Linked DNA regions of Homo sapiens: regions 2, 3 and 4 are each linked to region 1. Evidence: promoter capture Hi-C in human tissues and cell types (Jung and others, 2019). All regions are on one chromosome and are shown on one strand. Each heading gives the region's core, a stretch centred on a gene start or on the middle of the fragment in contact. The rest is flanking DNA. Distances are from core to core; before and after follow the strand shown.

What was found. The method cuts DNA at HindIII sites, captures the fragments that hold promoters and counts their contacts. A contact is called where the count stands out against the background at its distance.
Region 2: a contact is called between a fragment that was not itself captured here and the fragment with the promoter of NAALADL1 in region 1, in 2 of the 25 tissues and cell types used here (mesenchymal stem cells and psoas muscle).
Region 3: a fragment that was not itself captured here is called in contact with the fragment with the promoter of NAALADL1 in region 1 in 2 of the 25 tissues and cell types used here (bladder and spleen).
Region 4: a fragment that was not itself captured here is called in contact with the fragment with the promoter of NAALADL1 in region 1 in 3 of the 25 tissues and cell types used here (adrenal gland, aorta and hippocampus).

What each region holds. Positions count from the first base shown.
Region 1 is chr11:65,055,482-65,060,535 of GRCh38, reverse strand. NAALADL1 (N-acetylated alpha-linked acidic dipeptidase like 1) reads left to right here and starts at 1,983. Exons shown (of 18, transcript NM_005468.3): 1 at 1,983-2,199; 2 at 2,286-2,458; 3 at 2,540-2,661; 4 at 3,043-3,165. The coding sequence starts at 2,015. The HindIII fragment of the contact is 22,908 bases long and covers 1-5,054 here.
Region 2 is chr11:64,928,610-64,933,663 of GRCh38, reverse strand. PPP2R5B (protein phosphatase 2 regulatory subunit B'beta) reads right to left here. Exons shown (of 14, transcript NM_006244.4): 7 at 3,283-3,342; 8 at 3,075-3,183; 9 at 2,175-2,228; 10 at 2,055-2,105; 11 at 1,796-1,915; 12 at 772-899; 13 at 418-519. Among named protein-coding and RNA genes, the nearest start is that of GPHA2, 4.8 kb to the left of the region's middle. The HindIII fragment of the contact is 3,170 bases long and covers 584-3,753 here.
Region 3 is chr11:64,950,854-64,955,907 of GRCh38, reverse strand. MAJIN (membrane anchored junction protein) reads left to right here. Exons shown (of 11, transcript NM_001037225.3): 4 at 1,106-1,151. Among named protein-coding and RNA genes, the nearest start is that of GPHA2, 17 kb to the right of the region's middle. The HindIII fragment of the contact is 9,200 bases long and covers 1-5,054 here.
Region 4 is chr11:65,140,996-65,146,049 of GRCh38, reverse strand. It overlaps the pseudogene HIGD1AP10. Among named protein-coding and RNA genes, the nearest start is that of SYVN1, 9.0 kb to the right of the region's middle. The HindIII fragment of the contact is 4,285 bases long and covers 872-5,054 here.

The DNA.
Region 1 (5,054 bases), core at 734-3,233:
CAGGAGTGGGTGGGGTAGGACCATGGGGTTGCTGCCTCAGTCCCTCAACTTATCAGCTGACCTTGGCATCCCACTCCCCACCTGGTGGTGACTGTCCTGTGTCCTCATAAGGAAGGTGTATGCTCCCTGCACCGATGGGCTTCTGATAAGATCCAAGGTCATATTCTGGGCGTCGATAATCACGTTGCCAAGAACTGTGGCTTCCTGGTGCACCTCCCTGAAGTCACTGATCACATGACATCCCTTCCCAGCCACCCCTAGTCCTCCCATGCTGAACCTCCTCACCAGCAGCACAAGAGATGGTGGTGCCAGCAAAATGGGGTTGTGAGCAGGAAGGAGGCTGCTCTGAGAGGGGTCTGTGAAATCACACACACACACATGCACGTGCACACACACACACACACACACACACGCTCTGCCCTGATCCAGCCCCCAAGCTCTGCAGGCATCTTTGAGCCCATCCATGGGCTGCAACCTGCGAGGCAGAGTCAAGGCAGGATAGGCCATGGGAGGGTGGGAGAAGTCCCAGCTCAAGTCCCTAGGGACCCCCCCAGCCCCTCCTGGCTCTCCGTGAGGTCTGGAAGAGGCTCAGTATGTGTATGGCATACTTGGGGTCTCACTTCCCTCTCAGCCCTTGCAAATGCTGGAACACCTTTTCAGCCTTGGAGGACCCCCTCAGATGTTCCCTCCTAGTCAGAACTCCTCACTCTTTCACTGGGAGCATGGTGATCCTCCCTCTACAGGGCACTTACCACATGGCTGAACCTAAAGCCTGTCTGCCTCGCCTGCTGGATTTTGCTTCCCCACAGCCTTGCATGGCTCTAGTATAGCACAGAATGAACAGTGCTTGCATGTATAAAGGAAGGAATGAATAAGTGAATGGAGGGATGGGTGGATGGATAAATAGGAGGGTGGATGACGGAGTCCAGGCAGAGCCAGGGGATAGAAGAGGAAGTCACCTCGCCAGGGAGGCATGGGCTTCCCCTGCTGCCTCCTCTGGGACAGCCTCCCTTCCCAGGACTCCCATTCCTCGTATCGCTGGGCTCCCTTCAGGATAGACACAGAGAGTTCTTCTGGGTCCTCCTTCTTCCTTTAGCTCTAGGCCTTACATTTTCCAGAGTCAGATGAGGGATGAGTAGTTAAAATTGATGAGCTCCCACTACATGTCAGACACTGCACTAGCTATTTCTACAGATGCCATATTGTTTAATGAAAATGACACCATAGCCGGCACGGTGGCTCACTCCTGTCATCCCAGCACTTTGGGAGGCTGAGGCGGGTGATCACCTGAGATCAGGAGTTTGAGACCAGCCTGGCCAACATGGTGAAACCCCATCTCTACTAAAAATACAAAAATTAGCTGGACATGGTGGTGCACACCCGTAATCCCAGCTACTCGGGAGGCCGATGCAGGAGAATCACTTGAGCCCGGGAGGTGGAGGTTGCAGTGAGCCGAGATCACACCACTGGACTCCAGCCTGGGTGTCAGTGGAAGACACAGTCTAGAAAAAAAAAAAAGAAAACAGGTGTAGAGAAGCTGAGTGGATTGCCCAAGGTCACACAGCTTACGTCCAGCAAGAAGGGGGATCTCAACTCAAAATCTGCTCAGGCAGGTAGGGCTGGGTATGCTGTAGATCGGCTGCCTTGGAGGGAGGCAGAGGCAGTGAGGGTGGGCAGTGGGCACGGCCCTGCTGTGAACACAGGAGCTCTGAGTTCCAGCCCTGGCTTGGCCTCTGTTTTCCTGGGACACCCTGGATGAGCCCCTTCCCTCTCGGCTTCAGTGTCCCTGGGTGACCTTGCTGCCCTTGGAGAGCCATTCCAGGCAAATGGTGCAGGATGTGGTGGATGTGGATGGCTCCTGGCTCTCACTGCGGGATGTTCCCTCACTCTCCCTGCCAGCTGGGGGTCAAAGGGCAGTGCCACCCATGGGGTAATGTTTAACCAGGCACAACACCCCCTCTATAGGGAATAACCTATAGACCAGTCCTACCCCAGCTGGCCAAGAGTCCGCAGGATGCAGTGGACGAAGGTGTTGGGGCTGGGGCTGGGGGCTGCTGCCCTCTTGGGGCTGGGGATCATCCTCGGCCACTTTGCCATCCCCAAAAAAGCCAACTCACTGGCCCCCCAGGACCTGGACCTGGAGATCCTGGAGACCGTCATGGGGCAGCTGGATGCCCACAGGATCCGGGAGAACCTCAGGTGAGAAGTGGGGCCATCTGCTCCTCCGTTTGCCAGAGGCCCCCTCCCTGATGCTGGCCCTGCCCCTCCCTCTGCCCACCCTGCAGAGAACTCTCCAGGGAGCCACACCTGGCCTCCAGCCCTCGGGATGAGGACCTGGTGCAGCTGCTGCTGCAGCGCTGGAAGGACCCAGAGTCAGGCCTGGACTCGGCCGAGGCCTCCACGTACGAAGTGCTGCTGTCCTTCCCTAGCCAGGAGCAGCCCAACGTCGTGGACATCGGTGAGGTCCTGCCCAGTCTTGGGAATGCCCGGGGGTGGGGAGCTGCTGGGCCCAGCCATGATACTGCCACCCCTCCAACAGTGGGCCCCACTGGGGGCATCATCCACTCCTGCCACCGGACTGAGGAGAACGTGACCGGGGAGCAAGGGGGGCCAGATGTGGTACAACCCTATGCTGCCTATGCTCCTTCTGGAACCCCACAGGTGGGCCCAGAACCCCCCCTACTGCTCTGGCCCAGCTCCCTTGGTTCCACCCAGGGTTCTCCCCACCCTGACCCAGGGAACGTGCCTCAACTGGGGCACAGCGCGCCCTCCGGAATTTACTCACCGGGACACTCCATCGCTGCTCCTTTCCTCCATCAGTCATTCAACAAACACTAGTGGCTCTGCTCAAGGCCAGGTCTGTTACAGGGCACCCAGACATGGAGGAAATGAGGGGTGACTGTTCTTGGGGAGCTTACAAGCTCTGGGTGAGGTGGGGGAACAGAATCTAAATTCTCCCTCCTGCCATGCAAACTTCCACCCCCCTTCCCCACCCACACTTCGCTGGGCCCAGCTCTAAGGATCACCCCCTCTTGGGACTAGGGCCTCCTCGTCTATGCCAACCGGGGCGCGGAAGAAGACTTTAAGGAGCTACAGACTCAGGGCATCAAACTTGAAGGCACCATTGCCCTGACTCGATATGGGGGTGTAGGGCGTGGGGCCAAGGTGAGTGGCAGTCCCCCAGTGCAGGAGGCCTCGGTGAGGAAGGGGCTGGGCAGTGGACTGGAGGAAGTGAGGGGAAGGGGAAGGAGAAGAGGCAGTGTTGAGTGGGGAACCAAGCCCCAGGGTGGGGCAGGAAAGGCAAGGTGTTTTCGGGTTGTCCCACCAATGGGCTGTGTGGCCTCGGATGCCTCCCTGACCCTCTCTGAGCTGTAGGAAATAAAGGGGTTGAGTACAATTTTCAGGTTTGGTATTCCAGAAGTCTAAGTCCTCCTGTGAAATAGTTTTGAATATTCAACTTAAGTCCCTCCTGTTGGCCCTCTCCCTGCCATTTCTTTTCCATCAAAAATTCTGACTAGGGGCCGGGCGCTGTGGCTCACGCCTATAATCCCAGCACTTTGGGAGGCCGAAGTGGGCAGATCACCTGAGGTCAGGAGATCAAGGCCAGCCTGGCCAACATGGTGAAACTCCATCTCTACTCAAAATACAAAATTAGCCACACATGGTGGTGCATGCCTGTAATCCCAGCTACTGGGGAGGCTCAGGCAGATGAACTGCTTGAACCTGGGAGGCAGAGATGGTAGTGAGCTGAGATTGCACCACTGCACTCTCCAGCCTGGGAGACATCGAGACTCTGATTTAAAAAAAAAAAAAAAAAAAAAAAGGCTGGGCATGGGCGTGGTGGCTCACGCTTGTAATCCTAGCACTTTGCGGGGCCAAGGCAGGCGGATTGCCTGAGTTCAGGAGTTCAAGACCAGCCTGGGCAACACGGTGAAACCCCATCTCTACTAAAATACAAAAAAACAAAAATTAGCTGGGTGTGGCAGCGTGCACCTGTAGTCCTAGCTACTCAGGAGGCTGAGGCAGGAGAATTGCTTGAACCCAGGAGGTGGAGGTTGCAGTGAGCCAAGATTGTGCCACTGCACTCCAGCCTGGGTGACAGAGCGAGACTCCATCTCTAAAAACAAAAAACAAACAAACAAACAAAATTAATATAAAAAGAGTAGAATGAGAGAGGGGAAGGGATAGTTGGTATTTAATGGGGACCGAGTTTCGGATTTGTCAGATGAAGAGTTCTAGAGATGAATGGTGGTGATGTTGCACAATATGGATGTACTGAATGCCACTGAACTGCATACTCCACATGCTAAGTTTATGTTATGTGTATTTTACCACAATTTTTTTAAAAGTGGGCTGGACGCGGTGGCTCATGCCTGTAATCCCAGCACTTTCGGAGGCCAAGGCAGGTGGATTACCTGAGGTCAGGAGTTCGAGACCAGCCTGGCCAACATGGTGAAACCCTGTCTCTACTAAAAATACAAAAAATAGCCGCTCATGGTGGCAGGCACCTGTAATCCCAGCTACTCAGAGGTTGAGGCAGCAGAATCACTTGAACCCAGGAGGCAGAGGTTGCAGTGAGCCGAGATCATGCCATTGCACTCCAGCCTGGGGGACAAGAGCAAGACCTCATCTCAAAAAAAAAAAAAAAAAGGTGTCCATAATAAGAGCTGGGAAAAGAGAAAGAAAGAAGGAAGGTGGAGAGAAAGGAAGGAAGAAAAGAAAGGGAAAAAAGGAAAAGAAAAAGAAAGGGGAACAAGCAGTGTAGAAATACACAGATTATTAATTAACCATCACCACTACCCATTTCCAGAACCTTTTCATCATTTCAAACAGAAACTTTATTTAACAATAACTCCCCAGGTCCCTGCCCCAGCCCCTATTCTATTTTCTGTAACCTCAATTCTACTTTCTGTCTCTATGAATTTGCCTATTCTAGGTACCTCGCATAAGTGAAAGTATAAGATATTTGTCTTTTTATGTCTGGCTTATTTCACTTAACATAACATCTTCAAGGCTCATTGATGTATCAGAACTTTCTTTCTTTTTAGGCTGAA
Region 2 (5,054 bases), core at 919-3,418, 130 kb after region 1:
GGGGCCCCCCACAGTCCAGACTCCCTCACAGTCCAGACTCCCTCACTACCACCCCACCGGCAAAGGGAAGGCATGGAACCATTTTTGTTCTGTGACTCCATAAAAACCCTCTACTGAGGGAAGAGAGCAGAGGACAGACAGATCCCAGCCTGCAGTCACAGAGAAGATGACGGGTGGGGCCTGAGTGGTTCTGGCTTCTGTAGGAAGCTACAGGGAGTCAGAACAAGTCTGAGCTACTCGAAGAATGACGGGAGGATACAGGGGCAGACAGTCAGGCATAGGATGGCAGGAGCATGGACAGTCTTGCAGCATCTGATCAGACAGAGTTTGGGGTAGTCCTCGGGTTCCCTCCAGCCATGGGGGTCTGACTCCTCCCTGCTCTTCTCCCTTCCCCCACGCCCAGCCCCCAACACTCACTGCTGCTTTTCCAGCTTGTAGGAGGCTGTGAGCTCATCAAACAGCTTCCCATTCATCTCCATGAAGGTCTTGAGCACATTGTAGATCAGTGATACGATGGTTCTTGGCAGTGTCAAGGAGGGATGAGGAGATGAAACAGCTTTGGTTTGCCCACCTCTCCCTTTCCCTGCCCTTCACATACAGCATTCCACCTGAACACAAGCACTGCCCACTTTCCTGTCCTTTTCACCACCCCTGGGCCATCTTTTGATGCTTTCTCTGATATTCTCCAGCTAGGAGTAACCCTGGGGTCGGGTCTGGACTGGCTGGCCCTGGTCCCAGTTTCTGTGAGTTAGGTCATGGCCTGGCACTCACTGGTTCCAGTGCTCCTTGGAGACTTGGTAGAGGGTCCCAAACACAGCAGGCAGCACAGTGTGGCAGTTGTCCTCAATGAGGCTTAGGATATACTCATTGTTCCAGAAATACAGAGCCCGCTCTGCAACCTGGGGCAGACAAGATGGCAGAGTGATTAACTGGCAGTGGCTTCTCTCTGTGTGCAAGGTCTGGTGTCCATCACTACCTCAACGCCCAGGCCCCCTGACCTTCACACACCCCACCTTCAGGGCTTATCTGAGCCCTGGAGGAAGCAACAGTGTTGAAGGGAAAAGAGTTCTAGATACGGAATCCAATGCTGCGGGGTGAATCCTAACCACTACAGACTCTACTATGCCATGTGACCTTGGGAGAGGCATTTAACCTCCCAGCCTCAGTTTTCTCATCTGTAAAATGGGCTAATAATACCTATCTCAACAGGATGTTATAAGAATCAAATGAGATACTAGACTTTTAGGTGTTTAATGAACCGAAGTGCCAGAATCACTGTGAGGAAGACTTGACTTCCACTGGGTTATGGCCCATAAGAACGGGAGGAAGTCTGCACATGCTTGCAGCAGAACATGAGTTAGTTAGCTGGGTTGGTGCGGGGAAGCCTGGCTGCATCCCAAAGCGAGTCTAATGAAATCTAAGGCCACTAGCAAAAGGGGAAAAGTGATAACAGTCCTCCATCACATTCTGGATCACACTTCAGTTTACCAAACATGTTTACACTCACAATCTCTTCCATCCTTATCCCCACCCTGTGAAGAGGTTGTTGGCCCATTTTACAGCTGCGGAAGCTTAATCAGAATCAGAGTGGTGCAGTGATTTGCTCAAGGCCCCTCAGCCAGTGGAAGGCAGGTCCGAGGCTTCACCCTAGGTCTCCTGACCCTAAGTCCAGCATCTCCCCATTACCAGACCCGGGATTGGAGGAGAAACTGAGGGCAAAGGGAGCTTTATTAGGTCAGCTACCCAACCTTTCCAGGCCAGCCCTGCTCCCATCCCCGCCTGTCCTGCCTCATACCTGGAAATGGGGGCTGGAAACACAGCGAGCCACCTGCTTAAAAAGGGGCTCCTGGATCTTCACAAACTGGGAGGGCTCGATGACATCAAGAATCTCTTCCATCTCCCCCAGAAACATCACCTGGGTGGGTTGGGGAGGGGAGTAGGGACAGAGGGGCAGCAGCTCACATCTCCCCCTACACATACACACACCTGACTGCCTTCTAGAGGCCGAGCCCTCCCAGCCTCCCTCTGGCGGGCATCAAAGCCCTTCTTCATACCTCCTTCTGGGTGCAGGTTTTTGGCCAGTATTTGAGCAGCCCCCGGATCACCTGTGGGAGATGAGACAGGAGTCACGCCTGCAGAGGTGAGAGGCTGCCTTAGCCCCCAGAGGTACTCACGTGCTCTGTCAGAGTGGCATCCTTCTCCAGGAACTGCACCACACAGTATGCCAGCTGCAGGGGGTGACAGGTGGAGGGAAGGAAGACAGGTCAGGAAGGCACCAGGCGCCAAGGACTTGCTGTCCAGGACAGAATGCCAAATACTGCTCACCCACGGCCTGTTACTTTCTTATTCACCAAGCATTTATCACCTGCCTAGGATGTACCAGGCATCACATTCAGTGTGCTGGGAATACAACTCTGATCTCGCGGGGAGTGGGGACAGTCAACAAACTCATCTTTATAAATTTTGCAAAAGGTTCCATAATATGGCTAGTGTGGTGGCTCACGCCTGTAATCCAAGCACTTTGGGAGGCCGAGGCAGCAGAATCACTTGAGCCTGGGAGTTTGAGACCAGCCTAGGTAACATAGCAAGACACTGTCTCTACAAAAAAAAAATTTTTTTTAATTAGCCAGGCATGTGGCACATACATCTGTGGTCCCAGCTACTCGGGAGGCTGAGAAGGGAGGACTGCTTGAGCCCAGCAGGTAGAGGCTTCAGTGAGCCATGTTCATACCACTGCTCTCCAGCTGAGGCAACAGAGTACGGTTTTGTCTCAAAAAAAAAAATTGTGTATCAAAATCTCCCATAATAGATTTGTGTATCCAAATATTTGGGAATATAGATGGAGAAGAATGTAATTCTGCCAAGGGAGGGTAGAGAAGAAAAGCCTGGCTTCACAGAGCTGATATCTGAGGTTAGCCTTAAAGCGCCAGTGGGAATTTTCTAAGGTAGATGGAACAGAATTATAAAGACAAAGAAGGTGAGATAGGATCCCTGGAGGATCTGACCTCCAGGACCCACTGGCTGCCCTGACTGTCTGGAGCTCCTGCTGCAGCAGGGACAGGCCTGGGCCTCACCTGGGCATGGAAGACAGACAGCGACTTGACAGAGTGCAGGGGGATCAGGACGCGAACCAGGAACTGCTTGTGCTCCGTCTTCAGGGGCAGCGCAAAGCCATTGATGATGCTGAGGAGGAGGCAGAAGAGAGGAAGAGGGCTCAGGTGACCTGGCCCCAGTCCCTCCTTCCAGAATCCTGAGCTCCAGCTGAGGCCCAGGGAGAATCACCTTCCTAGGATCTCCAGCAGCTCAGCCACACCATTGAAGTGCTCGAATTCATAGATGAACCTGCAAGAGAAGAACGCAGGTGGGCTCAAAGCAAGCAGGGTAGGCCCAGTGCCCCCTTAGGCATCCTGCCTGCCCACCCTCACCTGCACGGCACGCTCATCCAACTCTCCCCCAACCCAGAGGCTGCGCTCCCTTCCCAACATCCCAAACCAGGCCCCATTGAGATCCCCGCCCCCCCACACTGAAATGCCCTTCTCAGCCCAGCCACCTCTGCCACTGAGTCCCAAGCTCAAGGCTCTCTTGCCAGTCAACCAAGAGAATGACAAACACTTAGCACATCTACTCCGTACCATGTAAGTCTCAGAATTATCCAGGGAGATGGGGCTTAAGAAATCCATCACATGGATGAAGAAATCAAGACTCAGCGGTTAAATAAAACAACCCCAATGTTAATAGGCAGGGAATCTAATGAACTCCAAGGTGCAGGAGGACAGGGATCATGGCTCACCCATTTTGTAGCTAATAACAACTAATGTTTCAGAGTCCCGGCCTCAGTCCAGGAGCTATGCTGAGTGCTTTGCAGGCAAGGCCCCATGTCACCTCGATAATGGTCCCTGAGTTAGTACAAGCAGCATCCCCATTTTTATCTTATCTTTGAGATGGAATCTCGCTCTGTCGCCCAGGCAGGAGTGCAGTGGCGCAATCTTGGCTCACTGCAACCTCCACCTCCCAGGCTCAAGCGATTCTCCTGCCTCAGCCTCCTGAGTAGCTGGGATTGCAGGTGTTTACCACCACACTCAGCTAATTTTTGTATTTTTAGTAGAGACGGAGTTTCACCACGTTGGCCAGGCTGATCTTGAACTCCTGATCTCAAGTGATCTGCCCACCTCCAACTCCCAAAGTGCTGGGATTACAGGCATGAGCCACTGCACCCAGCCAGCATTCCCATTTTAAAGACGAGCAAACTAGGAGAGAGCTTAAGTAATTTGCCAAAGTTCACCCAAACGTTGGAACCAAACTCAAATGTAGGCCATACAGCTTCAGAGCCATGGTCTCAACTACAAGGCCACGTGAGCCTTGATGCCCAGTGGGTGCTGGTGCTCAGTGCATGTTTGCAGAAAGAATCTCTCTCTGGGTCCTTATGGCCTGGCATGATAAGGGTCAAATGATTTAGCTCCTAGGCCCCTGGACTGACCCAGTCCCTGCAAACCATTTCATCTCTCTTGGCCTCTACTTTCTCATCTGTAAAATGGAAATAAATACCCATTCTCTGTCAACTTCACAGGCTTTGTATAATCAATATGTAATACGTTACTGAGAAAGGGCTTGGAAAACAGAAGTTCTACAAGGGCCCCTGCAGCCCAGGAGCCTTTGCTGCAGTCTTCTTTTTTTTTGTTTTCTTTTCTTTTTTTTTTTGAGACACAGTCTCCCCGTTGCCCAGGCTGGAGTGCAGTGGCATGATCTCGGCTCACTGTAAACTCCACCTCCTGGGTTCATCCGTCTCGCTCTGTCGCCCAGGCCGGACTGCGGACTGCAGTGGCGCAGTCTCGGCTCACTGCAAGCTCCGCTTCCCGGGTTCACGCCATTCTCCTGCCTCAGCCTCCCGAGTAGCTGGGACTACAGGCGCCCGCCACCGCGCCCGGCTAATTTTTTGTATTTTTAGTAGAGACGGGGTTTCACCTGGGTTCAAGTAATTCTTGTCTCAGCGTCCCAAGTAGCTGGAATTACAGGTGCCCACCACCATGCCTGGCTAATGTTTGTATTTTTATTAG
Region 3 (5,054 bases), core at 1,091-3,590, 100 kb after region 1:
AGGCGTGAGCCACTGCGCCTGGCCTGACCTAGGATGATTTTGTAACATGATGTGTTTCACTGGTCATTTGGAATATTTTGGTTCACTGAATTATGCACATCCTCCAAATATTGATACATTTCATTATACAGTATCGAAAAATATTTGTTAATATCACCACAGTCTTAAAAGTGTTGACGTATTTGGAAACTGTCAAACTCAAAATGGTGGACGGAAATTTTCCAAAATTTAAATTTTCACTTGAAAGCCCAAAATTTATTGTTGACAACAAGTATTGTCAGTTCTTTTCCTTGAGTTGACATGCCTATTTTATTGATTTTTAAGAAAGTGTCTGTCAAACTTCCAAGTATGAATAACAACCATAGTTTGTCTGTTAGCTGATCATTCAAGTAAAATATTCCATGAAGAAAAGCAGACAGTTCAGTTTGCAGCTTAAACAGTCACACAAGTGAGTTTCCCTAAAATAACTATCATATTTTGGTATGCAGCAGAAGCGCTTTATGCATACTTCGTGTTTTATCACATAACATTTAAAGAGACATGTAGTTAAAGATTGAGATTTTATAAAATGATTGCTTTTTTTTTCTGCTTCCTCAAGGATATTCAGTGAAACTGGATTTTTTTTTTTTCCTATGCAGCAGTAAAGATTTCTTTGACTGATAGTACAGCCTAGTGCAACTGGCTAGATTTGTTTTAAGGCATTGGCAATTTTGCCCACCATTGCTTTTGCAATCATGGTTACAAATATTAACACAGTGAGAAAGGCAAATAATACCTTAGTATTATTATGAAAATAGTTTTACCCTTGAAGACCCATTGAAAGGGTCCCCAAAGCACACTTAAAGTACAACTGTTGTAACCAATGATTAACTTTCACAGTGGGAATTTCAGGTCTTGGCAGGTTGAGAAGTCATTTTATACCAATGTTCAGACCACGCCACCTAGGTGATCACTTCTTCCCCATGAGCACTGGGTCAGCTTACACAGTTTTACTTATGTCATGTTTCTTTAGCTCAGTGGAAGTGTTATTTTTGCCCTAGTAGAGTCTACTCTCTCCAGAGCTTTCCTTCATGTCTTACTTGTCTCTTGTCTGTTTACCTTCTAGAGGAGAAGAGATAGAAAATAAGGAAGTCATCACCCAGGAGCTGGAGGTAGGGAAAGAAGCATACGACTTCTGGAAAAGTTACTCTTTAAGGATGCATCCACATTCAGGTTTTAATTATTTCCTACAAACTGAGTCACAACCTCCACTTGATAACTTGGCTTCCTCCTGCTACATCTCCTTTGCAAAGGAACTTTATGTTTTTCCATGGGAATTTAAAGCCTGTATTCTTTCTCAGTTTTCCTAGTTGAAATGTCAGCACCTTTGAGGCTGAGAGCTTTTTGTTTTCACCAGTTTCCAGCCTTGGGCAGCTCTCTTTTGTTGCAGCTGGCATAGAGAAAGATTCCGGAGGACTGCCTCCTTCCAGGGCTCTGGGAAACCTCACCATCCCAACCACTGCCTGGTACTTGACGTTCAGGAAACTCGACTGTAAATACACAGACAAGGCTGCTGTGTCTTCATTTAAATTGGCAACATTTGCAATTGCCTTATTCCGACTTCATTTTCATTCCTTTCTACCCGGTTCCTCTAGCTTTAGGTTTTCCTACAGAAGAAGACTGAGCAGGTGATCAACTTTACAAATTGGTGGAAGCAATGGACAAGGAGTTAGAGTTCTGGGGGTTGGCCCTGGATTCCAGTCCTGGCATAGCCACCACTTAGCTGTGTGACCGTTGGCAAATCATATATCAACTTGGATCTTAATTGCCTCATTTGGAAAATGAGAGGTCTAAACTAGCTTTTCCTCTTCTGACTTCACAATTCGGTAATTTGTGACTATTGTGATTTCTTAAGACATATGCCTCCACATTTCAAAGCAATTAAATACACTTAAACACAAAACTCTGTGAAACCAAAACTGAGTCATACCCTTAAGAAGGTACCTCTTTGGCTAAGTGTTAAAAGATACATTAGGATCTTGCAGGACCCTCAAGGATATCATTATGAATAAGTTATTTTAACATAGGACCAAGAAAATGTTCTACCTGGTTTTTTGTTTGTTTGTTTGTTTGTTTTTTGAGATGGAGTTTCGCTCTGTCACCAGGCTGGAGTGCAGTGGCACGATTTTGGCTCACTGCAACCTCCATCTCCCAAGTTCCAGCGATTCTCCTGCCTCAGCCTCCCAAGCAGCTGGGACTACCGATGTGCACCACCACGCCCAGCTAATTTTTGTATTTTTAGTAGAGACGGGGTTTCATCATGTTGGCCAGGATGGTCTCGATCTCTTGACCTCGTGATCCACCAGCCTCGGCCTCCCAAAGTGTTGGGATTACAGGTGTGAGCCACTGCACCCGGCCATTCTACCTATTTTAATTATGAGCAGAGCAGGCTTTATTTCACTTTGCTTCAGTTAACCTGAGCAGTGAAAAGCTCACGGAAGCATAACAGAGAGGAGGGAACACAGACTTTAGAGCCAGTCAAACCTGGATTTGAAGTCTCCATACTAGGATAGTGTCTAGCTTCTAATTATAATAGCTAATATTTATTGAGTAATTACTATGAGAAGTGTTCTGCCATTCACAGTTTGACTTCGGGCAAAGTACCTACCCTCCCTGAGTCTGTTTCCTTACCTGTCAAATGAGGTTAATAAAGAAGGCCTGTTTCAAGACTGAGGATTAGAAATAGATGTCTGCAATGCCTGCCACACAGTAGCTCAATAATTAGTAGCTCGAGAGTATTTACATTCAACGTATGTCATATTTCCAAGGTGCATTTGATATGCATATGCATCTTTCTCTTATGCTCACTAGTTTGGGGTCAGATGTTATCATTCTCTTTTCTTCATTTAGAAAACACTTACTGAGGCTGGGCGCTGTGGCTCACACCTTTAATCCCAGCACTTTGGGAGGCCGAGGCAGGTGGATCACCTGAGGTCAGGAGTTTAAGACCAGACTGGCCAACATGGCGAAACCCCGTCTCTACTAAAAATACAAAAATTAGCTGGGTGTGGTGGCACGTACCTGTAGTCCAAGCTACTCAGGAGGCTGAGGCAGGAGAATTGCTTGAACCTGGGAGGCGGAGGTTGCAGTGAGCCGAGATCGCACCACTGCACTCCAGCCTGGGCAACAGAGTGAGACTCCATCTCAAAAACAAAAAAAGAAAACATTTACTGAGAAGCAGGCTAGCCTAGGGGTTAAGACTAGGAGCTCTGGAACCCTGCTGCCTTGGTTCAGATCTTGGCCCTGCTATTTCTAGTTATGTAACCTAGACTACATTTTTTCACCTCTCTTTGTCTGTTTCCCCGTCTGTAAAATGGGAATAACAGAATTGCCTCACAGGGTTTTTGTGAGAGTTAAATTAATTAATATGTATAAAAACACAGCCGGGCTCTGTGGCTCACGCCTGTAATCCCAGCACTTTGGGAGGTCAAGGCGGGTGGATCACCTGAGGTCAGGAGTTTGTGACCAGCCTGGCCAACATAGTGAAACCCCATCTCTACCAAAAATACAAAAGTTAGCCAGGTGTGGTGGCAGGCACCTGTAATCCCAGCTACTTGGGAGGCTGAGGCAGGAGAATCGCTTGAACCCTGGAGGCAGAGGTTGCAGTGAGCGGAGACCAAGCCATTGCACTCCAGACTCCAGCCTGGGCAAGAAGAACAAAACTTCATCTCAAAAAAAAAGGCCGGGCGTGGTCGCTCATGCCTGTAATCCTAGCACTTTGGGAGGCCAAGGTGGGCAGATTGCCTGAGCTCAGGGATTTGAGACCTGCCTGGACAACATGGCGAAACCCCATCTCTACTAAAAATACAAAAAATTAGCTGGGCGTGGTGGTGTGTGCCTATAATCCTAGCTACTTGGGAGGTTGAGGCACAGCACTGCTTGAACCCAGGAGGTGGAGGTTGCAGTGAGCCAAGATTGTGCGGCTGCACTCCAGCCTGGGTGACACAACGAGATTCTGTCTCAAAAAAACAAAAAACAGTAACACTTCCCATAGTAATTACTCAATAAATATTAGCCAGTATAATTATAAGCTAGACACTGTGCTACTATGGAGAATACAAAGATAAACAAGACACAATATCTTTTTTTTTTTTTTTTTTTTTTGAGACAAGGTTTTGCTCTGTTGCCTAGGCTACAGGGCAGTGATGCAATCATAGCTCACTGCAGCCTCGACCTCCCAGGTTCAGGTGACCCTCCCACCTCAGCCTCACAAGTAGCTGGGACTACTGGCGTGTGCCACCACACCCAACTCATTTTTGTATTTTTTGTAGAGATGGAGTATTGCCATGTTGCCCAGGCCAGTCTTGAACTCCCGGGCTCAAGCAGTCCACCTGCCTTGGCCTCGCAGAGTGCTGGGATGACAGGCATGAGCCACTGCGCTGGCCACAGTTTCTATCTTCTTTGAACACAAACATGAGAACACTGAAGCTTAGGGTGAAATGACAAGGCTGGGATTGAAATTGAGACTTTTTTCCCCACAGAAATTTAGTAGTCTTTATGATGCCAAATTAATTAGTATAGACTAATAAGCATATAGCTTAATTAGGGACTAATCGATTAAAATTTAAAGTGAGTGAAAAAAAGGTTTGACTTAAACAAAAGCAAAATACTGTATATCAGTTAATACCAGTATTATTCATTCATTCAATGTACATTTAGTGAGGACTTGTTATGCATTATTCATGATGGTAGACACCATAGAAGGGATACTAAGATAAGTCAGGTGTATATTCTACTTCAAGTAGATCTCCCAGTAAGGAATATAAAACATTTGTATGTGGAATGTAGTAAAGACTCCAGGCTAACTACTGTGAAGTTTGATACTAACAATTATAACTTGGTAAATCAGGGAAAGATTTCTGGAGGAGATGCCTTTTGAACTATGCCTGAAAGGATAGGTCGGATTTGGACAAGTGCTGATGGGTGGAAAGGGCATTTCAGGAAGAGAAATTCCCTTTCTATGCAAAAGCATAGAAATGGAGAAGCGGGCTGGGTGCAGTGGCTCATGCCTGTAA
Region 4 (5,054 bases), core at 1,765-4,264, 84 kb before region 1:
CGCTTCAGCCTCCCAAAGTGCTGGGATTACAGGAATGAGCCACCGCGCCCAGCCGGGAGATTCTTCAAGCAGTCATTATATCAACAGACACAGATGTTTCCCTTTCTTCATATGACGAAGCTCAGGGATCCAAACTTATTCGTAAAGCTAAAGAGACACCATTGGTACCCGTTGGAATAGCAGGTTTTGCAGCACTTGTTACATATGGATTATACAAATTGAAGAGCAGGGGAAATACGCAAATGTCCCTTCATCTGATCCACATGCGTGTGGCAGCCCAAGGCTTTGTTGTAGGAGCAATGACTATTGGTATGGGCTATTCCATGTATCGAGAATTCTGGGCAAAACCTAAGCCCTAGAAGAAGAGATGCTGTCTTGGTCTTGTTGGAGGAGCTTGCTTTAGTTAGACATCTCATTATTGAAGTTATGTGTTATTGTGGAAAATAAACTATTTGAGTGGGTTTAGATGGTAACACAGCATTTTGAATATTGGCTTCCTTTCTTGCAGGCTTGATTTGCCTGGTGACTTAATTACTAGTGACTAGTTTACTAACTAGGTCATTCAAGGAAATCAAGTTAGCATAAAAGAAACATGTCACCTAAATGCACTAGATGGTGTTGAAATGTCCACCTTCTTCAATTGTGAAGATGAACTTAAGTTCTAAAGGATATAACAAGCCAACCCTGAAGTACTCCCAGTTTGCTGCAGGATCTCACATGTTTCGGATGTTATATAAGAGTCCTATTTGCCCTAGTTAATTTAACTTTTTTTCTGCCTGTCTTGTGGACTGGCTGGCTCTTTCAGAACTCTGTCTAAAAAGTGCATGGAATAAAACTTGTAAAGCTTCCCACAACTGACAGTATCTATGTGTGTGTGTTTAAACCAAATCTAGAAAGCTTACATTATAGCTGCATAGTAGTGGTATTTATTAAAGAATCACAGTTGTGAACATGAGAATAACTTATGGATTCTAGTTTAGTTATTTTGTAATTGCAGAATTATATTTTTGCTGCTGTTATATCTGAATAATTTTTAAATGTCATCTTGAGATAGAAATATGTATTTAAGCACTCATGCAAAGGTAAATGAGCACCTTTTATTTTATTTTTTTTGAGACGGAGTCACGCTCTGTCACCAGGCTGGAGTGCAGTGGTGTGATCTCAGCTCACTGCAACCTCCATCTCCCGGGTTCAAGCACTTCTCCTGTCTCAGCCTCCTGAGTAGCTGGGACTACAGGTGCACACCACCATCCTTGGCTAATTTTTATATTTTTAATAAAGACAGGGTTTCGCCATGTTGTCCAGGATGGTCTCGATCTTGACCTCGTGATCCGCTGGGCCTCAGCCACTCAAAGTGCTGGGATTACGGGCATGAGCTACCGTGCCCAGCCCAATGAGCACTTTTTAAATGTGTGCATTGCTTATTTTTTCCATAAGAATTACAAACATTAAACTAATCAAATTACCTATAATGGAATTGATTAATGACTTATGAGCAAGCTGGTTTGGCCAGACAGTATACCCAAACTTTTATAAACTATAGAATGTTATTACATTTGTGAAATTTTCTTGTCTAACCTGAATTTACATTTCATGGTGATAACATGGTATATGTACTGTTGTTAAAGTAAGTGACCATCTCAAAAAAAAAAAAAAAAAAGAACGTCAACATCAATTCTGACAGGACAGGAATTTGGACAATGTAGCTTTTACTCATTCATTCTTCCACTAATGCATTCATTCAGCAGACAGTCAAATAACCTGCAATTAGCTTGTGGATCTCTCTACCATGAGACTGAAAGCTCCATGAGGTCAGGGAATGTATTTTGTTCTCCACAATGTCCTCAGAACCTGGCCTGGGGCCTGAACACAGTAGGCCCTCAGTAAATGTTTGTTAATTAAAGGAATGAGATCAGAGGCAAGGGAAGTCCAAAGGCAGTCTAGATAGACCAACAAACTGACCTCATGTGTGGTCAGTCCCACATTCAATGCACACTTCTTGGTGAGGGGGTCATTCAGGGAAAGTTGGAGGGTCTGGCCTTCCAGGCTGGGAGTACCTGGAGTGTTCCACCATGGAAGAGAGAGAATAGTTCCTCATTTTCTCTTTCATGGAGGGAGAATGTGAGAATCCAGATGTTGTTGTCAAAAATGTTGAAAAACTTTTAAGCCGAACGCAGCAGCTCATGACTGTAATCTCAACACTTTGCAAGGCCAAGGCAGGTGGATCGCGTGAGCCAAGGAGTTTGAGACCAGCCAGGGTAACATGGCAAAACCCCATATCTACAAAAAATACAAAAATTAGCCAGGCACAGTGGCGCATGCCTGTAGTCCCAGCTACTCTGCAGGGCTGAGGTGGGAAGATCACTTGAACCCAGGAGTTTGAGGCTGCAGCGAGCCCTGATCATGCCACTGCATTCCAGCAGCTTGGGTGATAGAGCAAGACACTGTCTCAAAAAAAAAAAAAAAAAAAAGCCTGGGCATGGTGGCTCACACCTGTAATCCCAGCACTTTGGGAGGCCGAGGCGGGTGGATCACGAGGTCAAGAGATGGAGACCATCCTGGCCAACATGGTGACCATCCTGGCCAACATGGTGAAACCCTGTCTCTACTAAAAATACAAAAAATTAGCTGTGTGTGGTGGCAGGCGCCTGTAGTCCCAGCTACTTGGGAGGCTGAGGCAGGAGAATCGCTTGAACCCAGGAGGTGGAGGTTACAGTGAGCCGAGGTCACGCCACTGTACTCCAGCCTGGGCGGCAGAGCAAGACTCCATCTCAAAAATAAAATAAAATTTTAAAATACTTATCAATTCATGTTTTCTGTTGTGTCTTAGGTCAGTTTTAGTGCATCTTTTATTTTCTAGGAAATTGTCTATTTCTCCTAAATTTTCAAATTTATTGCCATAAAATTGCACCTACTGCATGCTCATTATTTTTAAATTTCTGCTGTGTCTGTTTATTGCTGTTTTCATTCATTATATTGTCTGCTTGTGCAAACCTTATTTTCTTGACCAGTCTCTCTGGAGATTTGTCATTCTTATTAGTTTATTCAAAGAGCCAGCTTTCAACTTTGTGTATTCTATTTTAGCTTTATCTATTTTCTTTTTTCTTTTCTTTTTTTTTTTTTTAGACAGAGTCTCGCATTGTTGCCCAGGCTGGAGTACAATGGCGCGATCTCAGGTCACTGCAACCTCTGCCTCCCAGATTCAAGTGATTCTCCTGCCTCAGCCTTCCAAGTAGATGGGATTACAGGTGCCCCCCCACCACGCCCAGCTAATTTTTTGTATTTTTAGTAGAGACAGGGTTTCACCATGTTGGCCAGGCTCTTCTCAAACTCCTGATCTCATGATTCGCCTGCCTCAGGCTCCTAAAGTGCTGGGATTACAGGCGTGAGCCATTGCGCCTGTCCTCTATTTTCTTAATTTCTATTTTGTCTTTGTTACTTCCTTACCTATTTTATTGATGTAATTAACATACCACAATTCATTATTTTAAAGTGTACAATTCAGCCAGGTGTGGTGGCTCACATTTGAATCCCAGCATTTTGGGAGGTTGAGGCGGAAGGATCACTTGAGGTCAGGAGTTCAAAACCAGCCTGGGCAACAGAGTGAGACTCTGTCTCTACTAAAAATAAAAAAGTTAGCCAGGCATGATGGCATTTGCCTGTAATGTCAGCCACTTGGGAGGCTGAGGTGGCAGGATCACTTGACCCCAGGAGTTCCAGGCTGCAGTGAGCCATGATCGCGCCACTGCACTACAGCTTTCGCAACAGAGCGAGACTGTGTCTCAAAATAAATAAAGTGTACAATTCGGTCATTTTTAGTATACTCACAAAATTGTGCAAGCATAGCCACTATCTCCTCAGGAACATTTTTATCACTCCTCAAATAATAAACCCCATACCAATTAGCAGTCAGGCCCCATTCCTCACGCCACCAGCCCTTGGCAACCACTAACTACTTCTGTCTGTATGGACTTGTCTATTCTGGACATGTAACGTAAGTGCAGTGATATGAATGCTTTTTTCACTGAGCACAGGGTTTTCAAGGTTCATCAATGTTGTAGCATGAAGCAGTACTTCCTTCCTGTTTATGGCTAAATAATACTCCATTGTGTGGGTACATTACATTTTGTTTAGCCATTCATGGACATTTGGGTTGTTTGTACTTTTTGGCTATTATGAATAATGCTGCTACGAATGTTCTTGTACAAGTGTTTGTATGACCAGATGCTTTCAGTTCTCTTGAACATATACCTAGAAGTAGAATTTCTGGGTCATATGGTAATTTTATGTTTAATTTACTGAAGAACTGCCAAACTGTTTTCCAAAGCATTTACACTATTTTACATTCCCACCAGAAACACATAAGGGTGCCAATTTCTCCACATCTTGCCAACACTTGTTATTGTTGGTCTTTTTTTTATCACAATGATTTTAGTGGGTATGAAATCATCTCTCTATGGTTTTGATTTACATCTCCATAATGACCAGTGATGTTTAACATATTTTTTTGTGCTTATTAACCATTTTCTTTTCTTTTTCTTTCTTTTAGAGATAGGGTCTCTCTCTGTCACTCTGGCTGGAGTGCAGTGGCATGATCTTAGGATCATAGCTCACTGCAGCCTTGAACTCCTGGGCTTGAGCAATCCTCCCACCACAGCCTCTTGAGTAGCTGAGACTACAGCCACCACACCTGGATAATTTATTTTTTGTAGGAGGGGGGTCTCACTATGTTGCCAAGGCTGAGAGGATTGCTTGAGCTCAGGAGTTGGAGACCAGCCTGCGCAACATGGCAAGACTCTGACTCTACAAAAAATACAGTAAACAAACGAACAAATAAAAATTTAAAAGACAGACCTAACCATTCTCTCCCTAATGGATATGTGGTTCTATTGTCTTGTTTCACTATTTCAAACAATGCTGTGGCAATCATCCTTGGACTTAAAATCTTTGGGGTCATGTACAAGCTCTTCAACAAGATAGATTCCTGAAAGGGGAAAATCCAGGTCAAAATGTAAGTTTGCTTTCAACAACTTTTATGTCAACTTAACTGAGAT